Regions from separate parts of the Homo sapiens genome. Here region 1 is linked to region 2. Evidence: promoter capture Hi-C in human tissues and cell types (Jung and others, 2019). All regions are on one chromosome and are shown on one strand. The core of a region is centred on a gene start or on the middle of the fragment in contact, and the rest is flanking DNA. Distances in the headings are between cores, read along the strand shown. Region 1 overlaps COA1 (cytochrome c oxidase assembly factor 1). Region 2 holds the start of MRPS24 (mitochondrial ribosomal protein S24).

Region 1 (4,989 bases), core at 1,365-3,864, 160 kb before region 2:
ACTATCTATTGAATAGGGGACTCTTTTCCCCATTGCTTACTGTTGTCAACGTTGTTGAAGATCAGATGATTGTAGGTATGCAGCTTTATTTCCAGGCTCTCTATTCTGTTCCATTGGTCTATGTGTCTGTCTTTCTACTGGTACTATGCTGTTTTGGTTACTGTAGCCTTGTAGCATAGTTTGAAGTCGGATAATATGATGCCTCCAACTTTGTTCTTTCTGCTTAGGATTGCTTTAGCCATTTTTGGGTTCAATCTTGGGGGGTTGTATGTTTCCAGAAATTTATCCATTTATTCTAGGTTTTCTAGTTTCTCTACATAGGGGTGTTCATAATAGTCTCTGAGGGTTTTTGTGTTTCTGTGGGGTTGGTGGTAACGTCACCTTTGTCGTATCTGATTGTGTTTATTTGGATTTTCTCTTTATCAAACTAGCTAGCAATCTATCAATCTTATTTATTCTTTCAAAGAACCAACTTTTGGTTTCGTTGGTCTTTTGTATGGATTTTCATGTCTCAATCAGTTCAGCTCTGATTTTGGTTATCGCTTTTCTTCTGCTAGTTTTGAGGTTGGTTTGCTCTTGTTTTTCTAGAGTTCCTCTAGGTGTGGTGTTGGGTCATTAATTTTAGATCTTTCTAAGTTCTTGATGTAGGCATTTAGCACTATAAACTTTCCTCTTAACCTTTAGTTGTGTCCCAAGGATTCTAGTATGTTGTGTCTTTGTTTTCATTAGTTTCAAATATTTTTCTGCCTTAATTTCATTCTTTACCCAAAAGTCATTCAGGAACAGGCTGTTTAATTTCCATGTAATTGTATGGTTTGGGGATCTTCTTGGTATTGAGTTCTATTTTTATTGCACTGTGGTCTGACAGTGTGGTTAGCATGATTTCGGTTTTTGTCTGTTTTAGAATTGCTTTATGGCCAAGCATGTGGTCAATATTAGCATAGGTACCATGTATAAATTAGAAGAATGTATATTCTGTTTTTGTTGGGTGAAGTATTCTGTAGATGTCTGTTAGGTCCATTTGGTCAAGTGTCAAGTTTTGGTCCCAAATATCTTTATTAGTTTTCTGCATTGATGCTCTAACACTGTCAGCAGGGTATTGAAGTCTCCCACTATTGTTGTGTGGTCATCTAAGTTTCTTTGCAGGTCTCTAAGAATTTGTTTTATGAATCTGGGTGCTCTAGTGTTGGGTGCATATATATTTAGGATCATTAAATCTTCTAGTTGAATTGAATCTTTTATCATCCACTATGTAATGCCCTTCTTTGTCCTTTTTTATTATTATTGTTGGTTTAAAGTCGGTTTTGTCTGAAATAAAAATAGCAATCCCTGCTCTGTTTTGTTTGTTTTCTGTTTGCTTACTTGACAGGTCTTTCTCCATCCCTTCACTTTGAGCCTATGGATGTCACTGCATGCAAGATGAGTCTCTTGAAAACAGCATATAGTTGGGTCTTGCTTCTTTATCCAATTAGCCACTCTTTTAAGTAGGTCATTTACATTCAAGGTTAATATTGCTATGTGAGAATTTCATCCTGTCATGTTATTAGCTAGTTGTTATGTAGATAATATACTTGCTTTATTGTGTCAGTGGGCTATGTACTTAAGTGTGTTTTTGTGGTGGCAGGTACCAGTATTTAATTTCCATGTTTAGCACTCCCTTAAGGACCTCTTGTAAGTCTGCTGGTAACAAATTCTCTTAGCATTTGCTTGCCTGAAAAGGATTTTATTTTTCTTTCGCTTATAAAGCTTAGTTTGGCCAGACATAAAATTCTTGCTTGGAATTTCTTTTCTTTAAGGATGCTGAATATAATCCCTTCTGGCATGTAAGGTTTCTGCTGAAAGGCCTCCTATTAGCTGGATGGGGCTACCTTAGTATGTGGCCTGCACCTTCTATATAGCTGCCTTGAAGATATTTTCTCTCATGATGACTTTGGACAACCTGGTGACTATGTGTCTTGGGGAAGGTCATCTTGTATAGTATGTGGGTATGGTACAGGGCTTCTCTGAACTTCCTAAATTTGCATGTCCCTCTATAGCAAGGTTGGGGAAATTTTCACGGAAGATATCCTCAATTATGTTTTCCAAGTCACTGCTCTCCCCCCATCTCTTTCAGGAATGCCAATGAGTCACAGGTTTGGTCTCTTTACATAATCCCATATTTTTTGGAGGTTTTGTTCATTTTTTAACTCTTTTTTCATTTTTGTCTACCTGCATTGATTCAAAGGAGCAGTCTTCAAGTTCTGAGATTCCTTCCTCAGCTTGATCTATTCTGTTATTAACACTTCCAATTGCATTCTGAAATTCCTGTAGTAAATTTTCATTTCTGGAAGTTCAGTTTGGTTCTTTCTTAAAATGGCTTTGTGGTCTTTCAACTCTTGCACTCTTACTGTGTTCCCTGGATTGGGTTTCAACCTTCTCCTCTATGTCGACTAGCTTCCTTGCTATCCAGATTCTGAATTCTATGTCTGTCATTTCAGTCTTTTCAGCCCGGTTAAGAACCATTGCTGGGGAGCTAGTGCAGTCGTTTGGAGGTTAAAAAAACACTCTGGCTTTTAGAGTTGCCAGAGTTCTTGCACTGGTTCTTTCTTACCTGTGTGGGCTGATATCCTGTAATCTTTGAAGTTGTTACTTTTTGCATGGGACTTCTTGCTTTTTATATTCTTTGATGCTCCTGAAAGTTTGACTAATATTTGTTTGGTTTAGTCAACTGGCTTCATTGTGGATGCTTTCAGGAGGCCAAGGCTCAACAGAGCACTCCTGGGCTACATGCTCTAATCCTTGTGGTGCTGGGACCAGGCCTGTGGCTTTATTTTCTGGCTCCTTGAGGTTAAGTACCTACTGCTCTGAAGGAGCTGAGATGTTCCCGGTCCACTGGCAACAACACTCCGATGGCAGCTGCCAGCAAAAGAACTCTGGTGGGGCAGCAATAGGCTCCCACGCACATGCATGCCTGCAGAGTGGCACGGGGAAGCTGTGGGCAAATGCACACTGGCAGGAGAAGGCTGCAGGTGGGCACGTGCCAGCAGGGGAAGGCTACCGGCAGGTGCACATTGGCAGGGGTCTGGGTCCATTTGCAAAAGCACTCCAATGGACAGATACGGTCTTATGGCAAAAAGCTATAGTGATGGCTGCTGGCAAGCTGAGGCTGTGCTGCAAGCAGGTACAGCCAGGCAGGGAGGGACCCTAACAGAGGCCAGCAACGGGCAGTTGGGGGAGGTCCTCAGATCAGACTGGTCCCATTCCACAAGCAAGCCAGCCCTCTATTGTCCAGGTCTGGCAGCCAACAAAGGCTAGAGCTGCCTAGAGGAGTATGGTGTTATGGATATCCACAGCCATGCTCCACTGCAACTGTTCCCACAACAAACCCTCTGGGCTCCATGCAGGCTAGAGTTCCATCTCTGTCAACTCTCCAGGAAGTTCTTCCTGCCAGCTCAGATGTTCATGAGAATCATGGGGTCTCCCACAGGTAGGCTCCCAGAGGTCCGCGGCAAGAGTGGGCCACTCCACATCAATTTCACTCACCCCATCCCTAGGAGCGACTCAGGGCCAGCGACAAACCGACAAACCGTGGTGCTTGGCAACCCTGTGCAGGGTTTCCAGCTTCCTCCCCTTTCAGCCTGGTATCTGCATCCTCCCTCTGTCCACTCTCAATGCCTTCTTTCCAAAGATCTGTTCAGAGTGTGCTGGCCTACTTGATGGCCTGGTCTCAGTGGGAGAGGCTCTTCCTAGCTGCCTCTAGATAGCCATCTTGCTATTTGTCCAAAATTATTGTTAAAGAATAAAGCATGAAAGCAATTTTCATAACTTGAATAAAAGTAAAGTTTTCATCTCCTACACTACTGGAAAAAAAAAATCTCTTTTACACAAATACTTAGAGCATTTTGATTCAAAAGCTAAAAAAGTATATATTAATATTAGAATCCAAGCCAGGCGCAGTGGCTCACGCCTGTAATCCCAGTACTTTGGGAGGCTGAGGCAGGCAGATCACTTGAGCTCAATTCAACACTAGCCTGAGGAACATGGCAAAACCCCATCTCTACAAAAAAATAAATAAATAAATACAAAAATTAACCAGACATGGTGGCACACACCTGTGGTCCCAGCTACTCAGGAGGCTGAGGTGGGAGAATCACTTGAGCCAGGAGGCGGAGGCTGCAGTGAGCCGAGATCATGGCACTGTACTCCAGCCTGGGTAACAAAGCAAGAACACATCTTAAAAAATAAAAAATAAAAAAATAAAAAAATAAAAAAACCCAGCCAGGTGCAGTGGCTCACACCTATAATCCCAGAACTTTAGGAGGGCAAGGTCAGCAGGTCACTTGAGCCCAGGAGTTTAAAATCAGCCTGGACAACATAGTGAAAGACTGTCTCCACAAAAAAATAGAAAAATTAGCTGGGCATGGTGGTGCATGCCTGAGGTCCCAGCTACTTGAGAGGCTGAGATGGGAGGATTGCTTGAGTCTGGGAGGCTGAGGCTGCAGTGAGCTGTGATAGGACCACTGCACTCCAGCCTGGGCAACAGAGAAAGACCTTGTCTCAAAAAAAAGAAAAAGAAAAAGCCAGACATGGTGGCTCACACCTGTAATCCCAGCACTTTGGGAGGCTGAGGTGGGCAGATCACTTGAGATCAGGAGTTCAAGACCAGCCTGGCCAACATGGAGATGCCTATCTTTTCTAAAAATACAAAAATTAGCCGGGCATGGTGGCAGGTGCCTGTAATCCCAGCTAGCTACTCAGGAGGCTGAGGCAGGAGAATTTCTTGAACCCAGGAGGCTGAGGTTGCAGGAGGCTGAAGTTGCAGTGAGCCAAGATCACGCCACTGCACTCCAGCCTGAGTGAATTTTCAAGGGCAAAGCCTTGCTGGCTAAAACTGTCTCTAGTAATCTTTAAAGAGTTCAGTCAAATTAATAAATACAACATCAAGACTGAAACAAATTAATGGGCAAAAGGCATATGCAAATACTTACAAATTAGATGGAGGAGGAGGAA
Region 2 (5,762 bases), core at 842-3,341:
CCTGCAGCCCTTACAATGTCCACTAAGAGTCTGCACACCTACATCCAAACCTCAGACCAGAACCTGAAAGAGTGGGAGACAAGCATCTCTCTCTCTTTTTTTTTTTTTTTTTTTTTTTTTTTGAGATGGAGTCTCACTCTGTCGTCCAGGCTGGAGTGCAGTGGCGTGATCTCGGCTCACTGCAACCTCCGCCTCTTGGGTTCAAACAATTCTCTGCCTCAGCCTCCTGAATAGCTGGGATTGCAGGCGCCCGCCACTACGCCCAGCTAATTTTTTTGTATTTTTAGTAGAGATGGGGTTTCACCATCTTGGCCAGGTTGGTATTGAACTCCTGACCTCAGGATCCACCCTCCTCGGCCTCCCAAAGTGCTGGGATTACAGGCGTGAGCCACCGTGCCAGGCAAGCATCTGTATTTTAAGTAAGTTCTCTAGATGCATCTCAAACATCCAAGAACCCCTGTACTAAACAAAGCACAGTTGGTTATCAATTGTTCACAATAGTTATATTCTATAAAGTCACTGCCAACACTGACTTAGTGAATACTGAACCATTGCTCCTAGGTGAAATACAGGGTTAGATTCCTTTCAGCCTCTGGGCACCGTATTTTTGTTAACAAATCAATACATAACCTAGTTTCCTTTGTGTTTCTGTTTAAAGACACCTTGTTTAATATATATGGTAGATTCACTAACATTGAATTCAGGGCCAAGAGCAACTCATGACTGAAGAAAGATTCTCTAATACATGTATGTTCTCCCTAAGGCACGTCACAGCCTTCTCCCGCTTAGGAACACTAGATAGCACTTCAGCATTGCAAGGCCATTTTAAACAGCAAAATCACTAACAAAAAGCACGAAAATGCAAATTAAAAAAAAAAGATTCTAGACCATAAAAAGGACACCTTTTACAGTACGAGAGCTGAAACTAGGCAGAGCCTTGTCGACCTCAGCTCGGGACATGCACCTGGGGTGGCAGCTCCACCCACATCTCAGAGTGACCTTGAGAGTGCCCAGAGTGTTGATTTGGGGCTTACAAATAAATTTTAGTCAGTAGAAGAATCTGAAAATATGGAATTCATGAATAACGAGGGTTGTCTGTATATATTTACAGAGAAAAATTTGTGCTTTAGTGGAAAACTGCATTCCTTAGAGCACACTGTTCAGGGTTATCAGATTCTGCAACGGTTTCACTCCTTTCCTTGACTCTGAGCTATTTTACAGCTCTGTAAATTACAGATAACTGACAGGAATGCAAAATAATTCTTGTCTGTAGACATGCAAATAATTTCTGTTCAGTGGAGGATCAATTGAGTCCCTGCCTGCCATGGAAAAAGTCAGTTTTGCATCCATCTTCAAATTTGTTTCAACATCCTGATCTATATATATCTCTGCTTTTTTATGTCTCCCTTGAGTTGGTTTCATAGATTTCTGACCCTAGCATTATTTCCTGAGTTAAAGAAAACCTGTGACACGTGTTCATTTTGTTTACATGACAGTCGGATTGAGTGCTCCTTTTGGAGGCCTGGGGTCCGCTCACCTGTGTGCAGCGACAGCCAGCCTTTACGGTGGGCGATGTAGTGCGGCGCGTGTGCCTCCTCGTAGGTCACCGGCTTGTCCCCCTTGCTTACGCGTACTCGGGCCGCCCGGTTCTAGGAGCAAAAGGGGCCGTGACTCCACGAGATCCCCGATCCAGACCCCTACTTCGCGCCATGTCCCCCCAGTCAGCTGGCACTGTTCCCCGGCCCCAATCCCCTGATCCCTAAGCCCCGACCCTAGCCCCGCCTCGGACCCCAGCGACACGCCCCCTTCAGCCCGCACGGCTTCCCCGGCCCCCGGCCCCCCGGCCCCCAGGCCCCCAGGCCCCTGCCCCGGCGGTGCTCACCTTGGCGCAGACCGGGGAGGTGTGCAGGGCGCGCCAAGCGCAAGGCAGCTCTCGGCTCCAGGACAGCACCTGTGGAGGGAGGGCGCGTGAGGCGGAAACTAGGGACCCCACCTCCGACTCGCAGGGACCTGCCGAGTCGCCCCACTCACCCGTGGCCCCAGCAACCCGCTGCACACGGAGGCCGCCATCTTGGGCCAAGCGGAGCGCGGGACGTACCACAGCGCGCTGAGGGGTGGGGACGACCGCGGACGAGACCAAGTCGGAGCTCGTACTCTGTACTCTGGCGGGGGCGGGGCAGGGCCTCTGCGGGGCGGGGCCGCGGTATGCTGCTAGCTGTTACTCCCGCCTTCCCCGCAGCCCTGTGAATGCTCAGCCTTGTGAATGCTCATCCCGCCGCTGTTCGCTCTCCCGCGGTTGCTGCTTGCATAGGGTTTCAGATCCGGAAATTTGAGGATGCGAAACGTGAGATTTTCTCTTCGACAACCTCACGCTAGTACGGGTGATGGGTGTGCGGCCCACCGGAGCCCGCCCTGCCCAACCTGCACCCTCGGGGCTCGAAGAGGAGCCAAGCGTTTCCCCAGGTCCTAGTTATGCCTCCAAATAATATTCGTAGAAAAACAAAACAGAAAAACCCTCCAGACTTTTATCCACAAATAAAGAAGAAACATATTTTGGTTAAAACGTCACCCAATTCTTCAAGGATGACTTACGCAGTTATGCAAGAATGGGTTTGCCACATGTGACCACAGTGGTGACTGGCCCCTGAGGAAGGAAAATTTTAAGTACGGGGAAGGGGCCGGAGGGCAAGGAGATTCGTGAGAATATCGCAGGGCCTGTAATGCTGAAACCAGTGCGTCGCCACTATTATTGGTATCCAGTAATTATTAATGTCAAACGGAAAAATAGCAACGCGGGATATTTTATTTTAGAAGTCACCACGGTCATGGAAAAAACACGGGCTCTGGAGTCAGACCCATGTATAACAATCTTTGTACAGTTAAGACTCAGTTCTATTATCTATAAAATGGGCCTTAATAATAGTACTACCTTATAGAGCTATTAGGATCAAGAGAATATTTAATCAATGATGGGTTGTGTTTGGTTGAGTGATGTGAAATTGCCAATGTTTTGGCCGTTCTGGGTCTACATCATTCCCCTTAATGGTACAGTACTTGCATACTGCTGCGGTTTCCTGTCAGGGGGAGGACTGGATTATGATCCATGGGAAGGGGAAATGGAAGAACGGTGGAAATGAGTTGCCCATGACCACACTGAGAAGAGGGAAAGAGGGACCAAGACACAAGTCTCTTGACTTCAGTCCAGCCCATTTCCCATGACCAAGATTCCTCTGATTACATGAAGGTGGGTTCTCAAAAAACCCGTAATAAAAGGACAAGGTCTTCCATGTCCACTTCACCAGAAATGTTTTATTCTTACTTTTTAGGAACTGCGGCCCCCAACTGTTATGCATATTGAATAAAGGGACAGAACAGGGATGAGGTGCCCTCCAATGCATACTTTGCAAATGTAAGAACTTTCAACATTTCCTAAGAAATCCTTTTCAACTGACAATTATTTTTTAAAGTTTTCATAATGTTCAATAATTTTATAATTGTTAAGTTTCATTAATTTGCTCCAAGGTGGTGAGGAACATGGGATGTGGCATCTGAATTGCCTGAGTCCAAATCGTGGACCCAATGCTTCCTGGCTGTGTAATTTGGACAAGTGACTGAACCTTCTGAGCCTCGGTTTCTCTCATCTGTAAACTGGGGACAATAATGGTGGTTGTGAGAAGTACAGTATGATGTGCCTGGCAGAGGGAGAGAGCAGTTGTGGGTTTTGTTGTTGTTTTTAACGAGTCCCTGATAGCCACATATCCCGTTAGGGAGATGAGCCAGCTATTGAGGGTTCTGTGAGAACTCATAGCAACACCACCCTAATCAGAGGAAAGGGGAAGGAGAAAGGGAAACAAGATCCTTGGGCTGATCAGAGGCAGAGGTGGCAATGGCACAACACCTATTGGGGCCCAAGGTGGGCAGGGGCCACACCACGAAGGCTGTGGTTGGGAATCAAGTTTAGCCCATAAAGCAGTAGGCAATCAAATGATCAAATTTATGCTTTCCTCTATTCAAGCCATTCTCCCTTATGCCTGAGATCTCTCTCTGGAATTCCAAACCGATCTAGATCTTTCCAAGCATCACAATGGCCATTTCAGTGGCAGACATTTCTGGGGTTCAAATATCTTGTTATCTATCCTTTATTAGCTTTGTTTATACTGTGATTGGGGGAAAGGGGACGTGTCGGTCTTTACATGATTAAAATTACTTAAAATGACTTTTATACATCAGTATGAATGTTATATTGTTTTAAATAATCAGCAGAAAAATCTGACTGGGGATGTTTTATTTTTCTGTAACTTCCATTTGTTGTTGTTTTGATGCACTTTCCTTCTCCTATTAATTCCATAAAGGAGGCAGTATTTCCAGGCTTCACAGAGCAGAAGATGGAGGCTCACAGACTCACCTGAGGTTACAGAAGTAGTAAATGGTAGCAGGCCTTTTTGCTCCAAAGCATGTGCTCTTTCAGTATCACTTCCTGGGGGTGAGGGTTCAGACCATGTTAGGATCAGGGAATGGCCTGGGTTTCTGTGGCTTGCTGCAGACAGCTCCCAAGTGGCCCTCAAGGACTGCCTGGACATGGAAAGGCCAGGAGCATATGACCCCATGTGAAAGACCCATCTGCACCCTTCCTGGAGCCTAATGCAGAGACAGGGATGTAAAACTGCTTTTTCTCTGACATGAGCCTTTGTTCTGTACATAATAACCAAGAACCAGAAGTTGCTCCTATGCTCTCAAAGCAGTGATTTGCAATTGCATGACAGAGCCCCCTGGGTTCCACACCACCTCTGTGGGGAGAGGGCAGGCACTCACACTTTTAAAATGCCCCTTAGATGATTTCAATTTGCAGTCGGGGCTGAGAACCAGTGTCCTGAACTCACTCAGTTTATTTGGGAGACTCCCAAAATGTGTATTTGCAGAGCCCCCTTTCGGGGAGAGTGCTGTTGGATGCCCCTGGAAGATTATGGCAGCTCTCTAAGGAACATAGCCATAGTCCACGCCCACCACTCTTGGTCACAAGGGCAGAAGAAGGGAGGAGGGGTCTGCTGGGAGGTCAGGACTTCTTTGAGATGATCTGTCCAGTTGGGTGCAGCACAGCCACCATGGGCTCACCCAGAGTGCTCAGGGGATACAGCACTGGCTGGGCCATGGAGAGACACTGTGTAAAAGGGAGCTGTCAGCCCCCTTGTACTTCCAGAGCCTGAAGAGTTTCAGAATCCAGCCTGGGGGCGGTGGGGTGACATCTCCCTTCCTGTTGGCTGCAGGGTGAGCCGATATCACTCCACTCATGGTGGTTCTCTTTACAGCTGACTTATCCTAACTCAGAACTGCTGACACTTTACACTTTGTAAACCTATGGTTTTTACATTATTCCTTGTGATTCTTTTTTTCCTAATAACTCGTTCACTAGGAAAAATCCCAGAGGCTCTCAGCTCTATTCTGAGAAATAGGTCAAACAACTGAAACCCTATGAGTAAAGCAGAGAGGCGTGTCAAACCAGATTGCCAAGACAGCTCAGCCGTTTTCCCTGTGAGCTCCTGCTCCATCCCCCCACCTCTGTTCTCCTTCTGGTGAGGCACAAGGGCTGGGTTTGGTGGGTGAGGTCCCCAGCTATAATTACTGACATCAGCTTTGCGGTCCCAAGGAATCCACTCCCCTGTTATCAGAGCTATGGGCAATTAGAAATGCCCAGTGCCACACCAGAACCCTGGGCTAAAAGTCAGAACCTGAAGAAGCCAAACTGGTGCTTAGGATAGAGGGGG

Evidence for each region. The method cuts DNA at HindIII sites, captures the fragments that hold promoters and counts their contacts. A contact is called where the count stands out against the background at its distance.
Region 1: a contact is called between a fragment that was not itself captured here and the fragment with the promoter of MRPS24 in region 2, in 1 of the 25 tissues and cell types used here (liver).

What each region holds. Positions count from the first base shown.
Region 1 is chr7:43,702,332-43,707,320 of GRCh38, forward strand. All of the region lies in intron 1 of COA1 (cytochrome c oxidase assembly factor 1), which reads right to left. Among named protein-coding and RNA genes, the nearest start is that of COA1, 25 kb to the right of the region's middle. The HindIII fragment of the contact is 9,314 bases long and covers 1-4,989 here.
Region 2 is chr7:43,867,426-43,873,187 of GRCh38, forward strand. It overlaps MRPS24 (mitochondrial ribosomal protein S24), which reads right to left and starts at 2,092. Exons shown (of 4, transcript NM_032014.3): 1 at 2,032-2,092; 2 at 1,883-1,951; 3 at 1,538-1,649. The coding sequence starts at 2,070. It overlaps URGCP-MRPS24 (URGCP-MRPS24 readthrough), which reads right to left. Exons shown (of 7, transcript NM_001204871.2): 5 at 1,883-1,951; 6 at 1,538-1,649. The coding sequence ends at 1,561. It overlaps LOC124901620 (a long non-coding RNA gene), which reads left to right and starts at 2,221. Exons shown (of 2, transcript XR_007060296.1): 1 at 2,221-3,409; 2 at 3,523-4,217. RefSeq lists silencers at 1,804-1,863, 2,164-2,223, 4,491-4,666 and an enhancer at 2,454-2,573. The HindIII fragment of the contact is 19,139 bases long and covers 1-5,762 here.